Regions from separate parts of the Homo sapiens genome. Here regions 1 and 3 are each linked to region 2. The links are contacts of gene promoters, found by promoter capture Hi-C in blood cells and fetal thymus (Javierre and others, 2016). All regions are on one chromosome and are shown on one strand. Each heading gives the region's core, a stretch centred on a gene start or on the middle of the fragment in contact. The rest is flanking DNA. Distances are from core to core; before and after follow the strand shown.

The links. The method cuts DNA at HindIII sites, captures the fragments that hold promoters and counts their contacts. A CHiCAGO score of 5 or more calls a contact.
Region 1: a contact is called between a fragment that was not itself captured here and the fragment with the promoter of IFIT1 in region 2, in 4 of 17 cell types (naive CD8 T cells, total CD8 T cells, naive CD4 T cells and 1 more). The highest score is 6.0, in naive CD8 T cells.
Region 3: a fragment that was not itself captured here is called in contact with the fragment with the promoter of IFIT1 in region 2 in 2 of 17 cell types (monocytes and M1 macrophages); the score reaches 5.3 in monocytes.

Annotation. Positions count from the first base shown.
Region 1 is chr10:89,558,242-89,561,156 of GRCh38, forward strand. No RefSeq gene overlaps it. Among named protein-coding and RNA genes, the nearest start is that of SLC16A12, 24 kb to the left of the region's middle. RefSeq lists an enhancer at 628-1,152. The HindIII fragment of the contact is 177 bases long and covers 1,191-1,367 here.
Region 2 is chr10:89,390,967-89,394,120 of GRCh38, forward strand. It overlaps IFIT1 (interferon induced protein with tetratricopeptide repeats 1), which reads left to right and starts at 1,657. Exons shown (of 2, transcript NM_001548.5): 1 at 1,657-1,751. The coding sequence starts at 1,747. It also overlaps a transcript of LIPA not described here. RefSeq lists a silencer at 492-653 and enhancers at 1,206-1,255, 1,486-1,535, 2,337-2,386. The HindIII fragment of the contact is 1,915 bases long and covers 57-1,971 here.
Region 3 is chr10:89,228,361-89,231,691 of GRCh38, forward strand. LIPA (lipase A, lysosomal acid type) reads right to left here. Exons shown (of 10, transcript NM_000235.4): 4 at 1-38. Among named protein-coding and RNA genes, the nearest start is that of LIPA, 22 kb to the right of the region's middle. The HindIII fragment of the contact is 2,654 bases long and covers 76-2,729 here.

The sequences.
Region 1 (2,915 bases), core at 29-2,528, 170 kb after region 2:
GGTGAAACCTCATCTCTACGAAAAATCCAAAAATTAGCTGGGCATGGTGGCAGGCGCCTGTAATCCCAGCTACTCAGGAGGCTGGGCAGGAGAATCGCTTGAATTTTGGAGGCAGAGGTTGCAGTGAGCTGAGATTGTGCCACTGCACTCCAGCCTGGGCGACAGAGCGAGACTCTGTCTCAAAAAAAAAAAAAAAATAGTGTGTGGTCCGGGTCGTGGCATTCACGCAGCAACCTGAAGGAGGCAGGGGAGTGTGGCTGTGGTCATCTGGAGGGAAAGCACGGAAAAGGAGAAAGGGGCAAAATGAAGGCACCCTGAGTTTGGAGTGTGCTTGGTATACTTGAGGAAACACAAGGAGGCTGATGCGACTGGAACAGATGAACTAGGGCAGAAGTTCAAATTCTACTCAAAAAAAGAAGTGGAATTAGAGCAAGGGCAACAGCTAACCCAGATAATGATGTCTGCTGAAACTATCTCTTGGGGTCGTCTCCTACAGCTGCCCAAGGCAATGTTACTCCCTATTACACCGCTCAGTTGCGGTGTCCTTTATCTCGTGTGGTGAAAATTAGCGACGTGGACACACGTGGAGTGGATTAAGGGGTAGAAAGTTTAATAGGCAAGAAAGGAGAGAATAGCTCCCCGTACAGAGGGAGGAGGGCTCTGAACCGAAAACCCGCGTGCAGAGGAAAGCAGTGGTTTATATTGGGAGGCTGGAGGAGGTGGTGTCTAATTAGCATAGGGCACAGGGGATTGGTTTAACCACGTGTGTCATTCAGGTAGCCCCCCCAAAAAAACTGGCCCTCCCACCCTAGCCTTTTATTATGCAAATGCGGCTACCTGGCTGGTCGCCATGACACCTGTACACGTGGCAACAAAGAAAAAGTAGCAGGAACCGCCATATTGGCTGGACCTGACTCTTAACCATCTGCATTTGCATATCAATACTTGCAGGTCTGGTTTTTCAGGCTGCTTTCTGTTAGATAATAAATATTTGGGGGACCGCTTTTTTATTAAACGAAAAAGACTTACTGAGGACTCTTTTACCCTCTCTAGCTGCCTAAAATAATTTCTTAATAACTCCTGTAATACCTACATATAGAACCTTTTACAGTTCTCCAAATAGATTGTGTTCTTCACCCTTCCACGCCATCTCTGTCTACCTAAGCGGACTCCTTTTATACTTCAAGTCAAGCTTAATTATGGCCTTCTCTGGAAAACTGCCCCCCATCCTGATTAGACAAGCATGCCCTCGTAGCACCTTGTCACCCTATGCACAACCCTATCCTAGTGTCTATTGCATTGCATTGTAGCTGGTGCTTTACTTCTCTACCTTGCCCACCAGACAGCAAGCCTCTTGAGGACAAGAAAGCTTTTTCTTTCTGTCTCGGTATCCATAGTACTTAAATACTTATATAGACACAACAGATAATTAGGAAATGTTTACTGAATGAATAAATAGCATTGGCAATCACTCATAAAAACGCCAAGTCAGATTTTAGTACCCCCTTAGCATACTTGCACATGATACCTACTAGCAATCCTGAAGGGTCACTAGATGCCAGGCAATGCACTGAATTAGGCGGTTGTTGGTTACTATTCATTATCTTCCAACAACCCTACAAATTAGATGTTATTATTCCCATCTTTAAATGTAAGAAAAATAAAATTGGGCAGGTTAAATAGCATATGTCACCACCTAGACCCAGGATTTTAATTTAGTCTCTCTAAATCCCAAACTACACCAAGCTGTAAGTCAGAAAAATGTAAATGAGGAACAGCTTATGGTACACTTAAAAAAATTATTTGATAAAAATCTGTTAGAGATTTACAGAAAACTTTTCACACTGTATTTACATTGCTTGACTTCATTATGGATTTTCAAGGAAGAATGATTGAAGGCCAACTCAATCATTCAGCCACAGTGAAGAGTTTGGCATAATTTGAAACAAAGGAATACATATGGGAAGCATCTAGAACTGAGTGAAATGGTGGCAAAGAAGACATGGACCTATACAAATATTACTAATTGGGAAAACACTTATAAACCACTGTAGGGTTTCTACATTGTTGAATGCTATCCCAATTTTTTAATACATGACATAGAACAATATTTACATACATGTACACTGAAAATAGATCCAAAGGGTATAAAACAAAATGTTTTGGTTATTTCTGAGTTATATAATTTTTTTTTCTGTGCTTGTCCACATTTACTAAAATCTCCACAATTAAAAAAAAAAAAATCCATGATGAGCTGGGAGTCGTGGCGCACACCTGTGGTCCCAGCTACTTGAGAGGCTGAGGAAAGATGATCACTTTGGCCCGGGAATTTGAGGCCAGCCTGGGCAATATAGCGAGACCCCATCTTTAAAAATTAAAAAAGTAAAAAAATAAAAAGTTTGTAATAAAACTTATAACAAGAAAATGAACCTAGTTAAAAAATAAAAAGAAGATCTGAATAGACACTTCACCAAAAATGATATACAGATAGCAAATAAGGCATTGAAAAGACGCTTGATATCACATGTTGTTAGGGAATTGCATATTAAAACAATGAGATACCACTACATACCTATTAGAATGGCTAAAATCCAAAACTCTAACAGCATCAAATACTGACAAATGTGAAGTAATAGCTCTCATTCATTGCAAAGTGCAAAATCGTACAGCCACTTTGGAAGATAGCTTGTCAGTTTCTTACAAAACTAAACATACTCTTACCATATAATCCAGCAGTTGCACCCCCTGGTATTTACTCAAATTAATCAAAAATTTATGTCCACACAAAATCCTGCACATGGATGTTTATAGCAACTTTACTCATAATTGCCCAAACCTGGAAGCAACCAAGATGTCCTTCAATAGGTGACTGGATAAATTGTGGTACATCAAGACAATGAAATATTATTCAACAC
Region 2 (3,154 bases), core at 407-2,906:
TTCAGAAATTCTTATTTGTGTAGAACTTTCTAACTAGTTGTTGAACTCTCTGTGGAAGCTTACAGAATTGGTGAGAGCTGACATGGGAGATGAGTCTGGCAGGGAGTTGAGCAGAAACTGTTTAGATCTGGCAGTGTGCCCAGTTAAGTGTTTCCAAAAGGAAAATACTCTTGCACCTGCTCCTCTTCTGCTTCTTATGTTAAAAGACAAAGTAGGTAGGTTTTTTTAAAGGAAACATTGTTTTTATATATTGTTATGATTATTTGAGACAGGGGCTCACTCTGTTGCCCAGGCTGGAGTGCAGTGGTGTGACCATGGCTCACTGCAGCCTCTACCTCCTGGGCTCAAGTGAGCCTCCCACCTCAGCCTCCTGAGTAGCTGAGACCACAGACACACACCACCACACCCAGCTTTTTTTTTCAGTTTTTTTGTAGAGTTGGGGTCTCCCTATGTTGTCCAGGCTGGTCTACAATTCCTGGGCTCAAGTGATCCTCCCGCCTTGCCTTCCAAAATACTGGGACTTACAGGCCTGAGCCAATGCACCCGGACAACAATTTTTTATTTTTTATTTATTTATTTTTTTAGACGGAGTCTCGCTCTGTCACCAGACTGGAGTACAGTGGTGTGATCTCGGCTCACTGCAACCTCTGCCTCCCAGGTTCAAGCAATTCCCCTGCCTCAGCCTCTCGAGTAGGTGGGACTACAGGTGCACACCACCACACCCAGCTAATTTTTTGTATTTTAGTAGAGAGGGGGTTTCACCATGTTGGCCACGATGGTCTCCATCTCCTGACCTTGTCATCCGCCCACCTTGGCCTCCCAAAGTGCTGGGACTACAGGCATGAGCCACCGCACCCAGCCAAGAATCATTATTTTTAACTTGATGACTGAAAATAATAATAATAATAGTTACCACTTATTTGCATGCTTCTATGTGCCAGGTAGTTGCTAACTATTTAAACTCAAATTCCATGAACTGTAGTGGAGGTTGTACTGGAATTTGATTCAGAATGACAGTGTCCATGATGGAGCAATAGAGGGCTCTCTATTTCAAACCATACCTCCTTGCTTTTACCTCCTGCCTAAGTCATCAGGGGTTAGAAGGCTTTCTAGGTATTGGTCTCTTTCCTTCATTCCTAAACCAGATTGGTTGCTTATTTCCGTCAAGCTGAAACCAAAAGTAAGCAACCAAAAAGCAACCAGCAACCAAAAGCCTTGTTACTCAATTAATTAAGAGTAGATTTTTATATTTGATAGTAGGTTCCTTCTAAATATAGAAACTGAAAATAGAGCTATCTCCTTCAATTCTCCTTTTTCTGTGTATTCATCCAGAATCCAGCCACCAACTGCCACAATAGGCAGCAATGGACTGATGTTCTTTAGGGAGGACGTGAATCTCGTTCCAAATGCTGGCCAGTCATTGGGTTTCTGCAGCACTAGAAACATCTATGGTTGCAGGTCTGCAGTTTATCTGTTTTAAAATAGAAACAAAGTTTCATTCCCCACCCCCCCCCGTCAGCAGGAATTCCGCTAGCTTTAGTTTCACTTTCCCCTTTCGGTTTCCCTAGGTTTCCAACTTGCAAGGACACACCCACAGCTTACACCATTGGCTGCTGTTTAGCTCCCTTATATAACACTGTCTTGGGGTTTAAACGTAACTGAAAATCCACAAGACAGAATAGCCAGATCTCAGAGGAGCCTGGCTAAGCAAAACCCTGCAGAACGGCTGCCTAATTTACAGCAACCATGAGGTAAGGATTTCTTTGCTCCTCTGCCATAATGTCTAAAGTTTTTGAAAAAATGGTAATTAAATACTATTTCAACAGGTTAGATCTCAGTGAGGTCAGGTTTTCTAATTCCTCGATTTGAGTATCTGCTTATGGACTGAATGTGTGCATGCATGTGTGTGCACGTTCACACATACATAAATTGTTTAATGCATTTTTATGTTTGTTAGCATGAACTTGAGGAAGCTTACCTCATGCTATAGCCCAAAGAAGGGGAGGGAAATGGGAAAAGAGTTTTGCAGGAAGGGAGAAAATGATCCCAATCTGAGAGATTCTTTCCCATCAGATTCACTTCTGTCTGATATGGGGAAGGAATGGACAGCTTGTCTGAGTAGAGGCATTGCTTTCTGCAGGTTCTTTACCACAGAGAAAAAGCAGGACCCACAAGAATGTGAAAGCCTCAGTCTTGCAGCCTCTCTGATGTCTTGTGGGTAATACAGTGGAGATGTGGTAGGAAAAGCTCACAGCCTTCCTCCATAGGCTTCTGGTCTCACTTTCTGCACTGCTGGCCTCTTACAACAGGTTTTCGCAATCAGGCTGAGCTTAAGATAAACAGATTGCCTCCTCCCTGGAAAATCTAGGCTCTTGGTACGTCCTTGACTGAAGATGATCCACATCTGCTTGGGAAGATCCGTATCTTCCTTACCTAAAGGGCCTAATGTGGGAATTTCTCAGCTGATTTAAAAACCATTACTTAGGCCGGGCAAGGGGGCTCATGCTTGTAATCCCAGCACTTTGGGAGGCCAAGGTGAGCAGATCGCCTGAGGTCAGGAGTTGGAGCCCATCCTGGCCAACATGGTGAAACCCCATCTCTACTAAAAATACAAAAATTTGGGCATGGTGGCACATGCCTGTAGTCCCAGCTACTTGGGAGGCTGAGGCAGGAGAATCACTTGAACCTGGGAGGCGTAAGTTGCAGTGAGCTGAGATTGTACCACTGCACTCCAGCCTGGGCAACAGAGCGAGACTCCGTCTCAAAAACAAACAAACAAACAAAAAATCCATTACTTAATACTGATTTGTAAATTTTCCCCTCAGTGCTCCAGTTGGCAAAATTTTGAAGAGGTAAAAATTCCAGAAAATGCACATTACAGGCCTATGATGAACCCTCCTCTGTAAACAGATGGAGTTGGTACTGATAATTAAAATAATAATAATATTAAATGTTATAAAGGTAGTTATCACTTCTTGAATTCGTATTAAGTGACAGCCTGGCTTCTAAAAGTGTTATGTAAATTATTCCATTTAATTCTCAAAAGATACTTATAAGGCAGGTACTTACACAGTCATGCATCGTGTAACAATGGGGATACACTCTGAGAAATGCAGCTGTTAGGCAATTTCATCATTATGCAAACATCAAACCT
Region 3 (3,331 bases), core at 153-2,652, 160 kb before region 2:
CAGCAAGCCATGTTGCAGGAAGACAACTGGTTTGGGACCTGAAAAACATTCATTGTTTAGGAGGCAGTAGCACCAAGCTTCAAAACAAATATGATATCTTGCTAAATAGAACATTCGTAAAAGATCCATAAGCAAATAATGAACTAGAAATAAATTGAAAGATTGACATAGTGATGTACTCACATATAATGTTAGTAAAGAATTTTTTTAAAACAGCACTGGCAAGGTAGCAGTGAAACTGGACCATTTTTTGCATGTCCACTAACAAGACACACTTATGTAAGCAGCAAAAACAAAAATCAATATATTTTTAAGAAATTATAAAATGTTTTTACAATTTTTTTCTTATAAAATGTTTTTACAATTTGCTTTCGTAATTGCATTTCTCACAATAATTCCTAACAAAATAAACAAAAGGAAAGAAAAAGATCACACATAATGAGACATCACTATACACGTATCAGAATGAGCAACATCCAAAAACGCTGAAAACACCAACTGCTGAAGAGGATGTGGAGGAACAGGAACTCTCATTCATTGCTGGTGGAAATGCAAACTGGTAGCACCACACTGGAAAAGTTTGGCAGTTTCTTACAAAACTAAACATACTCTTACCATATAATCCAGCAATCACATTCCTTGGTATTTTACCCAAAGGAGTTGAAAACTTACATCTACACAAAAACCTGCATACAGATGTCTATAGTAGTTTTACTCATAATTGCCAAAATTTAGAAGCAACCAAGATGTGCTCCAGTAAATGAATGCATAACTAAACTGTGCTACATCCAGACAATGGAGTATTACTCAGCCCTAAAAGGAAATGAGCTATCAAGCCACAAAAAGATGTAGAGGAACCTTAAATACATATTACCAAGATCTGTAAAGGCTGCATTCTATATGACATGCTGGAAAAGACAAAACTATAGAGAGAGTAAAAAAGATCCTGGTTGCCAGGGGTTAGGAGGGAGGAAGGAATTCATAGACAGAGTAAAGAGGATTTTTCAGGGCAGTAAGACTACTCTGCATGATACTATAGAGGTAGACACATGCCATCATACATTTGTCCAAAACTATAGAATATACAACATCAAGAGTGAACTGTAGTGGCCGGGTGTGGTGGTTCATGCCTGCAATCCCAGCACTTTGGGAGGCTGAGGCGAGTGGATCACTTGAGGTCAGTAGTTCGAGACTAGCCTGGCCAACATGGCGAAACCCTGTCTCTACTAAAAATACAAAAAAGGTAGCTGGGTGTGGTGCCCCACACCTGTAATCCCAGCTATTCAGGAAGCTGAGGCAGGAGAATTGCTTGAACCCGGGAGGCAGAGGTTGCAGTGAGCCAAGATTGCACTGCTGCACTCCAGCCTAGGGGACAGAGGGAGACTCAGTCTCAAAAAAAAAAAAAAAAGGGAACCCTAATGTAAACTACGGACTTTGTGTGAATGTAGGTTCATCAGCTGTAACAATTACAATTCCACTCTGTGAGGGATGTTCATAACAGGGGAGTGTGGGGGCAGAGGGTGTATGGGAAATCTCTGTACCTTCCACTCAATTTTGCTATGAACTTAAAACTGCTTTAAAAAATAAAATTTAATAAAAATTTTTAAAGCTGAATAAAAGTTAAATAGATAAAAAGGCTCACACACACAAATTCATAAATATATGTGTCTGTGTCTGCCTGTGAGAATTTATTTTCTACTCACCTGTACCCGAGACAGTGATATAGCAGAAAAAACAAAGATGTGGGAGCCAAAGAAACCTGACCTCAAGCTGCTTACCTAACGCTGAGACCATTCAGTTATTCATGAAACAAGCCTTTATTGAGTACCAACTATGTGCCAGGCCTTCTTCTCAGCACTGAGAACACAGCAGAGAACAAAAACAAGAGGAAAAAAAGTACCTCCATGGAGCTGACATTATACTGACCATGAGTTTTATCCACTTATTTGATTGATTGATTGATTGAGATAGGATGTTGCTCTGTGACCCAGGATGGAGTGCAGTGGCGTGATCTCTGCTCACAGCAACCTCCACCTTCTGGGCTCAAGTGATCCTTCCATCTCAACCTCCTGAGTAGTTGGGATTTCAGGCGTGCACCAACACACCCAGCTAATTTTTGTGTTTTTTGTAGAGACAGTGTTTCACCATGTTCCCAGGCTGGTCTCAAACTCCTGGACTCAAGCGATCCACCCACCTCGGCTTCCCAAAGTGCGGGGTTTACAGGTGTGAGCCACCACGCCCAGCCCGATCATGAGTTTTAGACAGCTCAAACAAACCTAGGCTCAACTCTGTCCTCTCCAAGTTCTAACATGACACCTTGGGGAAACATCTCCTAAAATTAATATAATTCCCTGAAGAGTAGAAATGATAATACACATTTTATAGGACACAGTGAGATATGAGATATTATATGAAAAGTAGGTAGCAAAGAGTCTGACACACAGTAAGAGTTCACTATATATCAACTCATACTATTAAGTTGCTTAACCAGTCTGCGTCTCAGTTCCAAAAATAATTGTTAAGAGGAATAAGTGAGGTAAGTATCCAGTATAGTGACTGACACACGGGTCACAGTGAACAAATGAGAGCTTCCTTTGCCCTCTGCTCATTCTTTATAACAGTGAAAAACTGGAAATAAGCTAATTGTCAAGTGGTCAAATAATTCATTGAAATCCACTTGGTATAATAATTATCCATCAACCATGACAAGGACAGTGACAGCATAGAAAAGCTTATACCTTGCAAAGGAAAAAAAAGCAAAATACAAAATTATAGACTACTCTAAATTACAGCTGTGCAAAATTAATGTACACCAAAGAGGAGTGTAAAATACCAAGGAAAAATGAGAAGAATGATTTGTCCAGATGATAAGACTATAAGTGAATTGACAAATGTTCATTTCTGCTAATGTCCTAATATAGATTTGATAACTAGCAAATTGTTTTTAAATGACAGTTCTGCTGCAAGGTAGCTTCCGTAGACTACTCCGGAAGGCACTGCTCACATACATGAAAATATACATGGTACTCCCTGGAGTTGTACAACCTGGGGGTGCTATACCCTCGTGTTGTTAAAATAGCAGGACCCCAGGCCAAGAGTATAAAATGATTCCCATAACTTTTTTTTTTTTAAGAGAGAAAAGGTCTCATTCTATCACCTAGACTGGAGTGCAGTGGCATGACTGCTCACTGCAGCCTCAAACTCCTGGACTCAAGTGATCCTCCCACCTCAGGCCCCTGAAGAACTGGGATTACAGGTGTGTACCACAACATCCAGCCAATTTTTTAAAAAACTTTTCATAGAGATGAGGTCTTACTATGTTGCCCAGGCT